Regions from separate parts of the Homo sapiens genome. Here all the other regions are linked to region 1. The links are contacts of gene promoters, found by promoter capture Hi-C in blood cells and fetal thymus (Javierre and others, 2016). All regions are on one chromosome and are shown on one strand. Each heading gives the region's core, a stretch centred on a gene start or on the middle of the fragment in contact. The rest is flanking DNA. Distances are from core to core; before and after follow the strand shown.

Region 1 (4,510 bases), core at 1,374-3,873:
TATTACAAAAGGAAAACAAACCTGACCCACAAAATAAACATACCTACAAACTTACAGCCATTCTTCATGATTTAAGGAATTACTAAAAGTTCTGCTTATTAGGCCGCATTCCAATGGACAAAACTACCTAGGTATGTTAAGTTTGCAGCAGAATATCCCAGTAAGTACTGCATTCAACTATCATAACCTTGCTCTAAACCAGAGCTTAATAGTTTCACGAGAATTTAAAATTTTAAGTAATGGTATTTTGCCTATAGCTGCATGATTGTGTTACCTTGCTATTCAGTAACTATTTTTCTGAATGATATCAGGAGGGTGATAAAAGGAAATAAATTATTATTAAAAAGTGTACAGGTCTGAGACATTAGAAAACTTTGATTTGTACTTTTGCTACTACCCACCACAACCACTTTCCTCTAAACCTTGTTTTCCTCCTTTTTAAAATAAAGGGCTGAATTACCTGTAAAATGTTTCTCACCTTTGAGAAGAATCATACAATTGAATGATTCTAAGTACCATAACAAATTTTATTAGGGATAAGGACCCCATTACATCTTTCTCTTCCTTGTTTCAAATGCCGCCAGAGCAACACACTATCCTAAACATCCAAGTAGGCCAATATAAGTCTATCAATACAAACCTATTCTCAGAATCCAACAGGCTAAAAGGGAATAAAAACAAGGACTGGCATATTTTTGTCATACATACTTCAGCACTTAATATCTCTACCTATACAACTTCATCCAGTCTGAGATAAAAGAGAATCTGGTCTTCTACAAATAGACATGTGTCAAATCCTTTAAAAGGTACTTCTCTATTTCAACAGAGACCAGGATTCAATAATTCCAATTTTCGGAAAACCAGACTTGCATCAAAATAAGTTCCATGTTTGTGGAAGAGAATAAATAGTAAGTGGTACTTTTAGATGAATCACTTGGTCTCCTCTTAGAACTAAGTTTAAAATCAGCCTTTAAAGCTGTTTTCCCTCTGCTGATAAAGATTTCCCTCTCCAAATAAAGATTTTTCTAGATTCTATTTCAGGAAGGAGACAAGAGAGTGGTAAAACAGCTAATAACTAGTAAAGCTAACTCTCAGTTGGTTGTCAGTATGGTATGTTTTACTGAGCCTTTGGGTTGTAAGGGCTTCTGTGAGGAATAAGGTCCTGCAACGCCGCCTGTCTGTGGACCCAGGAAAAATTATAAAGTTATTATGAAACCAGATCACTAGGACAAACCGAGAGGCCTTCCTATTCCAACTCACCACAACCAGGCCTGGCTCCAAAGCCTACCCTTTGGCTGTCCCATATTACGGGACAACAGGTCCTAGCTTAATTCTAACTCACTAAGGAAACATTCGAAGGCATGTATGTATGTACGTGTAAGGATCAAATATATTTTTCATCCACTTACAAATGTATATGGTCATTTGTAATTATTTAAAGTTACTGATAAATTTATACAAATACAGCATCAGTTCATCGAAAATCCCTGGGAGATCGAGGAAATGAAGTTACTTCAGCAGCCAGGATAGTTACGAAAAACCCTGCAGAACAGTATGGAAAAGTACAGCTTCTCACGTGTCCCTCACATACACAAACACTTAGCTCTGAGTCCATTACAACCTTACGTCCCCCCTCAAACTGCTCCCCTCCACCTCACAACTGGGAGAAGTTGATCAACCTCCTAGTTGGTCCCCAAGAGACTCATTTACCCATTATTTTACTCCTCCCGCTTTGATCCCGATCCCGCCTCAGACTAAGGTGGCCCTACTGGCCCCAGGCAGACCACCCCCCCACCCCCCGGCGTGCAAACAGGGAATCTAACCAATTCCCTCCATCCTTAACCAAGTGAGCCATCCCATGATAACAGGCTGTTCACCAACTCTGTGAACTCCGTGGTCCTCCCACCCCCACGTGTCAGCTACCCTCCCCCACATTCCCACACCTCACGATTTAGGCCGAGGGAAGAAAGGGGGCAGTCGAAAGCCTGGCCCCTAAGAGATCAACCCACTGGAATCTGTCCCACTCCAAATCCCCTCCCACCTTCGGCCCCTATCCCTTACAGTCCCTTCCTCCCTCCTTCCTTTGAAACCAGGCCCTTGCCTCAGAAACCTCCTCTTCCTCGTCGTCGTCGTCCTCTTCTTCCTCGCTGTTGTTACTGCTGGTGCCGCCGCCGCCACCTCCGCCTCCACCGCCGCCTCCACCGCCGCCGCTGTTGTCGCTGTCGCTGCTGCTTTCGCTGCTGCTGGGGGGTCGGCAAGTCCGGTTACGCTTGGCCTTGTGGTGCTGCTGCTGCGGCGGCTTCTTCTTCAGGAGCAGGTCGCAGACTCGCACCATCCCACGAGGAGACGAGGCCGAGCGAGCTCTGCTGCTGCCGCCAACGCCGCCGCCGACCTCCGCCGCCGCGGGGGGGCCCGCCACAGCCGCCACCGCCGGGGGGCTCCCTTCTCCTTCTGCAGCCGTCGCCGCCGCCACCGGAACCGTCGCCTTCTCCATCCCCAGGGAAAGAGGGAGGGCGCGGACGGGGGAGGGGCGTGGGGCTACGCTCTACCGCGACTTCGGCCGCACTGGGGCCGACACAGCAATCGGTGCCGCCTCCGCCGCCACCGCCTCGGTCACCTCTACTGCCGCCGCCGCCGCCGCCGCTCCGCCAGCTCTCACCTCGTCTCGCGATACTAAGGGCGGGGAGCCTGACGATGGGAGGGAGGGAGGGAGGGAGAGGGAGGGAGCAAGGGAAGGAGGGTGAGGCGTAACAGGGAGACCGGGTGTCGGGAGAACCAGAGGAGAGGAGACTGGAAAGAAGCGGGGAAGTGTGCCTGGGGCAGCTTCCGAAGGGGAACGGCGGGGACAGATGAGGGGGGCGCGATTGCAACCAGAGCGCCCGCGAGCTCCCGGATTTCTTCTCTTTCCTCGCTATTTCCCGCACACACAGCCCTGCAGCCCTCCCTTCTTCCTTCCTGGCTTGTGATTAGAACGCAGCCGCAGGCGGAAGTGCAGTGACGCCATCAGCCGTCGCCTGAGCCGTGGCGCGCGGGTGGCCGAAAGGCGAAAGTGAGATTTCAAGGGCCGGGTCTGGGGCCCCGCGGGCGCGCAGTGCTGCGGCGTGTGGGGAGTACGGGGAGGCTGGAGAGGAGCCGGCCCCGGGCAGTGTGAGGTGCGGAAGCGCGGTCCAGACACTTTGCTGACGGGAGGCCGGTCCGCCAGATCCGGGAGGTGGGGCCTCGTTCTGGACTGCTGTACGTAGTTTTATTCCTGGTCATTTTTTTCCACCGCCAAATCGAGAGATAGAGCTTTGGATCATGAGAGATGGCGTCGTGTTGGGAAAAGAGCCTTCTTTACCTGAGTTTAAGCTCGGCTCATAGACATCCTCTACCTGAGTTTACACGTGTGTAATATGAAGGCAGTCGATTAGGAGATGTCTAAGATCATTACTTACACCTCAAGTTTCCAAGGGGAGGAAGACACGGGAAGGATGCGTGGTCTGTGCCAGACTTTGTAGACGATTCACTGAATGACCCTGATTTAGCTCTTCCGGCCCTCTTCGATTCAGCTTGGAAGCAAGCATAAATAGTGATTGTTGTCTGTATACTTCTCTCGGAAGGAATGCTGTTATGGGAGTTGTGGGTTCATTTTTAGGTGTCTGAAGAAGTTTCAGGACTTTTGAAATGATAGTGGAGCCCATTGAACTCAGAATTATCCCTTTCTGGTCTAGTAGGAGTATAGTGGCATACGGAAAATGAAGCAAACATCAAAGACAGATGTACTGGCACAAGATTAAAAGTATGTCTCAGCTGACATAGTTGCCATTTTAAGACTGCTTAGTTTAGCTGAATATGCCTGGATTTTTTTTTTTTTTAGCATTTTTTTTCTTTTTAGCATTGGCATACCATATGAAATGTGGGCAGTTGCCAGTACTCTACAGAGTACCAAGGCAGAATTGGCAATGACTAAATCAATTCATTCAAACAAAAATTCATCATGTGCCTACTGTGCGCATAATTTGTGGAATCAAAGTCTCTTGTTTCCAGGGGCTTTACAGTGTAATAAGTGCTATAGTAAATATATATACGGAGTGGTAACCATCTGCCTATTCCTCTCCTACAGTCGTTGCTGAGTTCCAGTGTAGAACAGAGCACTGCATTGTGTATCTCACCACTACTGATTTAGATTTTATAATTTCAGCTGCATCCCTCCCTCCTACTTTGTATATTCTTCAGCATCTTTTTCTCCCTTTCCACTTGAATACTTTTCGCAATCTTTAAATCCCAGCCCATTTTATTATATGACTTTTAACTTAGACTTCACAATTTTCCAAGTGCTAGAAATTTCCTGAGATTGCCTTTTCTCCAGTATCAACGAATGAGAGACTCCCTGTTCATATATGAGATAAACTCTTCATACATATTCTAGTTCCAATACCCCTCTTTCTCATGCATTTATTATCTTTTCTGTTGTCAACCTTCTACAAATTCTGGTTCCTTAGCTAATTCTTCTGTAGCTTTCAATTATTTC
Region 2 (4,510 bases), core at 1,093-3,592, 5.7 Mb before region 1:
TGCCTAAAGCCTAACATATCCATTTTATGGCTCAATCCAACTCATATGGTCTTGTTTTCCACTTCTACCCAACATATTCAACCTTCTTAAATCAGGTCTCTCTGCTACTGACAAATATATGTATTCCTACTTTGGTTCCTTCGTTAAGTTACTTTCTATGTCTGGAATATACTTTATCTTAGTCTTTAAATACCTGTTCAAGGTCCACCAAAGTTACACTACAACTTTAAAGCTTTTCTTAATATCAACAACACACAAATCCCTAATTTCTCACATGGCTGTCTATACTGCAAGTTAATGCCTAATTATATATAGGCCTACTCTCTATGATACACAAGTCATTACTTCAGTATTGCAAGTAATAATTTTTGTCCATTAAATTGTTTCACAAATGTACATATACATTTTCCCAACAGAAATCTAAGCTTCTTGTAAACAAAAGAACATACTTCTGTGCCCCATTGGACCTACTAAAATCACAGCTCAATAAACATGACGTTATTCATAATAACATCTTCACTTTTAAAAACATGCTTTTCATCCTATTACTAGTAAATATTTAACTAGAAAATTTACTTTTTACAGGTTTTACAACTAAAAGAAGAACCAAAACAACCCAAACAAGCACTCAACAAATGCACGACAGCATGTACTATTTTTCTTTTTGCCCCACTGAATAAGCTACATCTTTCTAATTTTACCATTTGATTCATTCTACAAAATGCTTTTCCCATGGCAGTCACTTAGTCAGAACTGAGACTCCCTCTTCCTGGTTCCACTATTTTATCAGGTGAATTTCTTTTTTCACAGCCACAAAGTCATTGCACTGCTTGCATTAACATTCCCGTTAGTATAAGATGACTACCCTTAATCAGTGGGCACAGAAATCATTATATTAGTCAGAGGTGATAGTTTTTCCTTTCTTCATTTAAAAATCTATTAACGATGAGAATAAAAATAATCTTAAAAGCTTAAGTACGTAAATCACCTGGAAGGTCGACAAAATCTTCTTCTGTAGCCATTTTTGAGATGATCCTGAAAGAAAAGTAAATCATCAATTTGGTTTCTTTAAGATAGAGTCGAGTAAAATTTATTTTCAAAGTAACTTCATCCAGTATGGGCATGCTATACACCAAACATCTCCTAAGGGCTCAAAACAATTTTGAGGTTATGTTATGACATAACATAGGTTATGACAGGCATTTAAAAACTGAACTGCAGGCATCTGGTAAGCTTTATTCCGCTTCTCTCCCCACAGTGAGAATGGCTTTATTGCTTTCTTCTGATTATATATAATGTAAACAATATATGTGCTCATAGTAAAAAGTATAGATTATATTATTCTTTCATACAACTCTTTATGTTTATATGTATAACGTCACATAATGGGAGATCATCGAAGCTGAAGATTTTCTTAGAAGGGGAGATAAATTAGAAAAGAAATGATACGGATTTTTATATAGTAACCATAACCAAAGTATGAAATATAGAATAGTGAACACCAAAGAAGTCCAGAAATATGTAAACAAAATGAGTTGTCGCCCCCATTAGTCATTCACAGCTTGTACCTTTTAACTGATAGCTGTCTTTCAGAAGAGTTTGTCAATAACATATGCTCCATAAATCAGCCTCAAGAACTGCATAAAAGGCCACCATTTTGACAGAAGAACTGAAAACGTCAAATTATTTCGAGACGTACTTGTTACATAATCTGTTTCTCCCAACTACCAAGTGTGACGCAAAGACACACTTTTAAGGCGTTTCAATACTTCTACCATGGGGAGAAAAGTTATTTGGAGGCCTAGGAACTGGAGCTAGACTAAAAAGCAGAAGCCAAGATCGCGCCACTGCACTCCAGCCTGGGGGACAGAGCAAGACCCCGTCTCAAAAACAAAAACAAAAAAAAACCCAGCAGAAATCACAAGCACCTCTCAAGAGTAAGACGTAGGCACAGACGAAATGACGACATGAAAACTTAAGAAATAATAAAAGTACAGTAAATTAACTCTGGTTATCGACACACGATCACACTTGATTTCAAAAATTCCTGCGGCTTTCCCACTGAAATCCCTCAGAGATCACAGCCTCAGCCTAGCATTTCCTTCTCCCCAGCCTCGGGCGCCCGTGCCCCAGCCAGCCGCTCAACCACTCGCCTGGAGCGGGGGGCCTGCACTTACCAGACCGGACGCAGCCATGTTCCGGCCCCGCTGAGCCAGCGCAACTGTCTGAGGTGGAAGCCCACACGGACCACAGCTCCAGGAAGCCGAGCAAGAAACGAATCGCCGGAATACCAGGCCGCGGCCAAGCAATAACCTTAAGTCTCAGGCGACTGCCGCGAGAGCTGCGATCCGGAAGGCGCGCGCTAACAACACTCCCCCGCCATTGGCTCCGCCCTCAACAAACAAGAACGCTTGGCCTGTGCCTGGGTTTGAACCCGGAGACACATGCGCAAAACGGGCCGCGCCGTCCAATAGGAAGCAAGCCGTTAGTGGGCTCGCCCCTTCATGCTCCAGGCCAACGGCCCTCCAGCCTGCAGACCCACCCGCCCGCCCTACCTCTAGCCGCTCTGCTCTTCCCACCTCCCTTCCTCAGCGCCGCGCCCGGGACAGGCGCGAGACTGGGCTTTTATTAGGAAGGCACGATCCTGGGAACCGCTCCTTGTGCCCAATGTAAAACTTCTCAACAGTTCTATTAAGGAATAATAAGTAATACTTGGAAGGATGAGAGGTAGAAATTGCAGACGACTTTTTTTTTAATAGAATCTTTTTTTGAAGAGATTTTTCTAATGCAGATTCGTCAGCCACGCCCAGCCCATCTAACCATCATCTCTGAAAATAATTGAATAATTATGTATAATAATGGTGATGATGGCTTGTATTCTTTTTCAAGTATGTGGGCGATATTTTTATGATGCATTGCCAACAAATGACCCACGTAAATATCTATCATTTAAGTATGATGCACTGAAAAGAATTCTATACAGAATCCTGAAACCTGCCAGCCATTGACTAGCTATGTTATGGAGGGCAAAATTGCGGCACCATTCTGGGTGTTTCCATAGTGATAGAATGGAAGTCTAAATTAGACGCTCTGAAGACTTCTCACCTGACCAGTGTATGATTCTATGAAGCTGTATCTTATTTTATTATTTAATTTAAAATTACAAGAAAATTCTAATCAGAAAATAGTTTACTAATTGAATAAATACATTAATCAGGAGTTGAGCTAATAGATTTTTAAAACATGTAGTGCTTTAACAAATGCTGTCAACTATGAAGGCCAATTTTTTTATTTTATTTATTTTTTTGATAGAAAAAAAGGAACTATGATCTCTGACTGAAATTAGGCCTGGATTGCACTCCATTCCATTAATTCTGCCATTATGGGCAACTAAGTTATCTGTTCCTTAATTCTCTTGTCTGCAAAATGAGAATACTATTAAAGTGGTTGAGATGTTGTAATTGAATAATTCCTGTTAAGATCTAAGCACAATGTTTGGAACATAGTAAGAATTCAATAATAAAGCTATTGGAATCATTATGGAGAGTTTTTTACTATGTTTGGCAGTTTTGCCAATCAGTCCAACTTATAATTTGGTGCTGTCACATTTGGAATAGATAATGATAAACACTAACATTTATTGACTGCATACTCTATGCCCAGTTCTGAAATGCTTTGCATGCATTGAAGAGAACAATTAATATTCCTGTTTTATAAACAAGGGCACTGAAACACAGAGAGCTAAGTGTCTTACCCAAGATCACATCACCACTAAATGGTAGGATGGGTTATTATCCCAAGAATTCTCACTCCACAACTGAGCTCTTAATCACTACACTCTTTGCCTCTGGGTAAGAAATTTTAGCAAGCACGATTATAGATGTAAAGTCCCACATGTAAAATTATATCCTCCTGCTTCCACTGGAAACTAAGTCCCACACTTATTTTGAGAAATTTGGAATGCAATGGCTTGTGCTGCTGCAGAAAGCAGGCCACAGAGGGCGTTGAGGATTAACTGTTCTAAAGAAAATAGAGCAGTACTCTTATAAAAACAGTTGTGGAGACTCCACAGTTTCCAGAGAAACGTTTTACTTCCATATGTACTTGTTGTAGTACTTAATAGCCCACCATGGTTTTAGTATCCTAAAATAGGATTGCTAATTAATGGGGGGAGTAATATTTATTTAAAAACCCAAGTTTGTCGTTATAAATCTCCCCCCAAAATACATCAAAGATTACTTCTTATGAACTGCTAGGACAATCTTGAAGTTTTCTTTCACAACTACTTACCTAGTTAAGGGGTGTGTGTGCATGTGTGTATTTACATATCAGTATATGGAAGTATTAACATATACATAATTAGATGTGTATATGGGAACATAAAGTATCCAGAAATTTGGCTTGAAAGAGAAGTAAAAAAAACTTTTCGTTACTTATGGTTTTAGGTACATAATTTAAAATTTGTAAATCTTGAAACTATTTCAAAGAATATTTTGTTTTAGATCTTTGA
Region 3 (4,510 bases), core at 1,104-3,603, 5.6 Mb before region 1:
ATACAAAAATTAGCCAGATGTAGTAGCAGGCGCCTGTATTCCCAGCTACTTGGGAGGCTGAGGTGGGAGAATCGCTTGAACCCGGGAGGAGGAGGCTGCAGTGAGCCAAGATCCCACCACTGTACTCCAGCCTGGGTGACAAGAGCAAGACTCTGTCAAAAAACAAACAAACAAAACAAAACAAAAAAACCCTGTTAAATGAATAAATTTTAAAGGAAAAAAACTAATCTAAATATGCAAATCTGACAAAGTATACTTATTATAGTAACATATTATTTATAGCAGTGCTCGTCCCATTTTCACAGCATGGCCTTCAAAAAACGTATCTGTACTAAACACTGGCAAGCAGAGATAATTCCCAGGTACAGGGAACCAGTCTGGAGCATTTGGAGCTGAACCACTGTGAGAGCTGAGATCAATATACTGGCAGAAGTGGAGGCCATTCCTAGTTCTGAGAAGCTCTAGTTGTCAATTAAAAGATTCTAAAAACAATGCGATGGCATCAAATTCAGGCTTGGAATCCAACTTTCTAGTCCTAGCATTGATAAATAAGCCAAAGAATTTGTAAACAAAGGTAATTAAAATGTTATCATTTATCTCACCAAACACTGGCACATATCAAATGATACCAGCTTCTAGCTAATTAAACGGATAGCTATTAAAAAAACTGATTCCAATTACCAAGGCAAATCAGAAGATAGCTGTGTTCTAAGAGATCACCTACCTAATAAAAAACACACACATACACAATATACCCTGTTTGGGCATTGTAACAAAATATAAAAATTAACAAAATTTGTTTCTTTTCTTTTTTTTTGAGACAGGGTCTCTCTCTGTCACCCAGACTGGAGTGCAGTGGCACGATCTCGGCTCACTGCAGCCTCGATCTCTCTAGACTCAAGCGATCCTCTCATCTTAGCCTCCCGAGTAGCTGGGACTACAGGCGTGCATCACCTACGCCCAGCTAATTTTTTTGTATTTTGTAGAGACGCGGTTTCGCCATGTTGCCCAGGCTAGTCTAAGAACTCCTGAGCTCAAGCGACCCGCCTGCTTCGACCTCCCAAAGCGCTGGGATTGCAAGCGTTTGAGCCACTGCGCCCGGCCAAAGTTTTTTATTATCTACTTTCCTATCATTTTATCCCTAGTACACTTTCACTTGCTGTTTTCCTTGCATGGCGGGGGCAATAGGCCTGGTGGGTAAATCTGAATAAAAACGAGAACAGCTGCAGTCTAACTAGCTCTGCCACTTAATGGCGTGACTGGCCCTTTTCAGAAAGTTGTGCCTCACTGGAATGTTTCAAAAATATGTAAAAATAATATGATCTATAAGACAATCAAAAACGCTTCAAATAAGGCGCGGGTTATATTACATAATATCCCTCCACTCTGGCAGTGTTGGCAATGGCAGACAACACCATGAAACTGAAAGCATCCCTTCAGTCTGAAACTGGCGAAAAGGCTACAGGTTTACAAAGTCTCACATCAGCTGAAAATAATACATCCATCAATTCTATCTTTGGCATGGTGTATTCTGACAGTGGTGGATAGAATGTAACCACTTGCTTTATTAATTATGAGATGATTGAAAGAGGAACTACTAACCAAGAAATTGGTAAAGGCCTAGCACAAATATTTTCCCCCTAATTTTACAGGGGCGGGAAAGACCTGAAGAACTTCAAAACCAAGTGGGAAATAAGAATGGGTAACTTGTGTATTTTTTTTTCCTGGCTTTTTTTTTTTCCTTCTTCCGAAGTCAACAAAGGCCTCAGGGTGTCCAGATTGCTACTGATTCATTCTTACCAAGTTCCTTCTGGTAATAGTTTTCAAAAGAGGATCTCAGTGGAGGTGCACAGTGGCGCTCCTAGCTTTCTTTTTACGGAAAGGAGGAAAGGTGCTTGGCACCAGTCGGGGAAGCTCACGCCAAGTGACCGAGACCAGAACTCGCTCTCGACCGGAGCCCCCCAAGTCTGGTGACTTGGAGGAAGGAGGATCCCGAATCCCAGCCAGAACTGAGAAAGCCCTCAAAGGTGCGGAAAGGGGACTTTTCCCTCAGGAAAGCCGGCAACAGCAGAGGCCCTAGCCCACGTCGCCACACCCACTCCGCGCGCGCCCCTCGCCTCCCAGGGCCGGCTCTGCTCGGCCCCGCGGCCTCTCGGGCGCCCCCAGCCCGCCGGAAAGAAAGAAGCAGAAACCCGGAGCCTGGGTCCCACCCGCGACCCCTCACCTTCGCCCTTCTCGTCCTCTCACCTGCCAGTCCCCCAGGAAGAACAGGACGCCTCTTCCCCCTGATGGGCGGCCACAGGCTCGGATCCTTCCATTGCCGCCTGAGACACCGCCGCCGGCTACTGGAAGGTAGGAAGGGGCGGGACCGTGGGGGGGTCAAGGGGCGGGCGGAGACGTCATCAGAGGGGGCGGGCCTGGGGAAGCTAGGAGCCCGGCAGCGCCTTCCCGTCAACCCTAGGGGCGTCCTGGTTTCCGGTTTGGGTGTGGCCGCATGGCGTGCTGTGGTGCAGGTGGCCGAAGGGGGCGTTACTGTTGCGACTGGCATCCGCATCCGGCAGATGTAGATGGAACCAAAGTCCAGAAGTTACGCGTCACCCTTGCTCTACAGCCAAACATGCAGGACTCTAGTAACCCGCGAAATGATGGGATAGCGTTGCAAATCCTTAAAAGAGTCTTAACGGTAAGAAGAGGAAACAGCTTTATTTTATAAATAAACTGAAGGCTGCTAATAGCTCCAGATTGTCAGTGAGGGGATACCACTTAAAGATGTTATACATTTAATAAATAATTTTGGGAGTCCACTACATGTGAGGCGCTGCCTCAGATTTAATAGAATCATGTGACTTTTAGTGCCATAGATGTCGTTAGATCATCCAGTTTGGTCCCTTAAATTTGTGGGTAAGGGAAAGGAACTTCCGGTCAGTGCAAGTGACTTGGTCAAGGTTATAGAGCTAGTCACTGTTAGATTACCAGAACACATATCTAAAAAGTTCTCATATAATTCTTTTTCATTTACTTCCGTGTCACCTTTCTTAGAAAGCAAAAATGAGTTGGACACAATAACATTAGGATTTGTCTTTCACTAAATAACACTGTATATTTGAATAAACATCTGCAGGATTTTTAAAATTAGCATATACTTTGGGTATTATGTAATTTTCTGTGATGTATCATATTTTTAATTAGAAATTTTTCCTCTCATATGGAGATGAGGGTCCAGGCAAAACTGTATTATCCTTCGTGCCCTCTATTCTCTTCAAAATTGCACATCTTAAAATACCTGGAAGCTTTATGTTGCTCACCTATAGCATTATCCGTGTTCCTCAATCCAGTTGTGAACCTTTTCCACATTAAAATGTTCTTGATCTGTGTTCTATTCTTTCAAGGCTCTGCTCTAGCACTAAGATAATGCTACAGGACTGAAGATAATGAAAAAGATTGAAGAAAGCAGAAACAGAACAAAAATCAGATTATTTCAAAGTTTCTTTCCTTGTAAAGGTTAAAACAGAGCATACTTCCTTATTATGCCCACTAGGTTAACTAGAATCTCCTGTTTTTTTAAAAAAAACTGGCTCATTTTTTCAAAATCCACTTTAATTACATGGTGCTTAGCACAAGCAACTCCATTCTGGTTTGATCTGATGGGGCCTAGTGTAGAAGGCTAGGCCAAAACAATGGCCTGCCATTACCCACGCTTCTTCATATTTTAACATCCATGAATAGAGGATGAATTTTTAAAAAATAAATACAGAAAACGATGCATCTTAAAATTGAGGGCATGTTAGATTTGATAAAATATGGTGTGAATTATTTCAGGCATGTAACAAGCAACCAGATTTAACAGATTTTAATGTTTTGTCACATATGTAAAATGGGAAAGAAAACTAGGCGATCACAGCTTTTTGACAGTGAGGCTTTATGTCATAAGAAAGTAGAATGACATATTGAGGAAACTTAAGGGAAAAATATGTAGGCCAAAGATTTTACATTCAGCAAAACTAATATACAAAAGGTACAAACTGTTATCAACAATTGATATATCAATTTGGTGAGACTAGTGTTTTCATGAGCCCCTCCTTAATAATTAATTGGAGAAAGTGTCTGACAATCAGAATTATTACAGAAACATTGATCTAAGGATTGACTCGGTTTCTTTACAGCAAATCATAATCTGTTGCATTTATTAGCTTTTGTGTTTCTTGTAGTTTATTCTTTATTACTAATTCTCCTGAGTTCTGTCACCTCATTTCTGAGGTTTTTCTAATTCAGAATCAAGTTCTTCCATATCTTTTATCATTTCTCTAATGTCATTTAGCTAGTTTCAAAATAATAAATTGTTTTGTAGTGCATCTTTCAGGCATGTTTTTATTATCTTTGATGATGATGTTATATTCCTTATTCTCTTCACATAATAACTGCATGGATTTGAACTTGATGCTTTTTTTGTTGCTCTTTTTTTTTTTTTTTTTTTTTTTTTTTTGAGACAGAGCCTTGCTCTGTTGCCCAG

Evidence for each region. The method cuts DNA at HindIII sites, captures the fragments that hold promoters and counts their contacts. A CHiCAGO score of 5 or more calls a contact.
Region 2: a contact is called between the fragment with the promoter of CENPC here and the fragment with the promoter of ANKRD17 in region 1, in 1 of 17 cell types (naive CD4 T cells). The highest score is 5.5, in naive CD4 T cells.
Region 3: the fragment with the promoter of UBA6 here is called in contact with the fragment with the promoter of ANKRD17 in region 1 in 4 of 17 cell types (total CD4 T cells, non-activated CD4 T cells, total CD8 T cells and 1 more); the score reaches 11.0 in total CD4 T cells.

Annotation. Positions count from the first base shown.
Region 1 is chr4:73,256,175-73,260,684 of GRCh38, forward strand. It overlaps ANKRD17 (ankyrin repeat domain 17), which reads right to left and starts at 2,624. Exons shown (of 34, transcript NM_032217.5): 1 at 2,102-2,624. The coding sequence starts at 2,494. It overlaps ANKRD17-DT (ANKRD17 divergent transcript), which reads left to right and starts at 2,992. Exons shown (of 5, transcript NR_187399.1): 1 at 2,992-3,234. RefSeq lists enhancers at 1-276, 2,677-3,273, 2,876-3,145 and a silencer at 2,316-2,715. The HindIII fragment of the contact is 8,436 bases long and covers 1-4,510 here.
Region 2 is chr4:67,543,161-67,547,670 of GRCh38, forward strand. It overlaps CENPC (centromere protein C), which reads right to left and starts at 2,343. Exons shown (of 19, transcript NM_001812.4): 1 at 2,178-2,343; 2 at 989-1,035. The coding sequence starts at 2,195. RefSeq lists enhancers at 2,098-2,337, 2,115-2,665 and a silencer at 2,488-2,627. The HindIII fragment of the contact is 5,245 bases long and covers 1,232-4,510 here.
Region 3 is chr4:67,698,802-67,703,311 of GRCh38, forward strand. UBA6 (ubiquitin like modifier activating enzyme 6) reads right to left here and starts at 2,354. Exons shown (of 33, transcript NM_018227.6): 1 at 2,248-2,354. The coding sequence starts at 2,318. UBA6-DT (UBA6 divergent transcript) reads left to right here and starts at 2,477. Exons shown (of 2, transcript NR_015439.1): 1 at 2,477-2,683. RefSeq lists silencers at 2,078-2,247, 2,378-2,447. The HindIII fragment of the contact is 4,018 bases long and covers 1-3,288 here.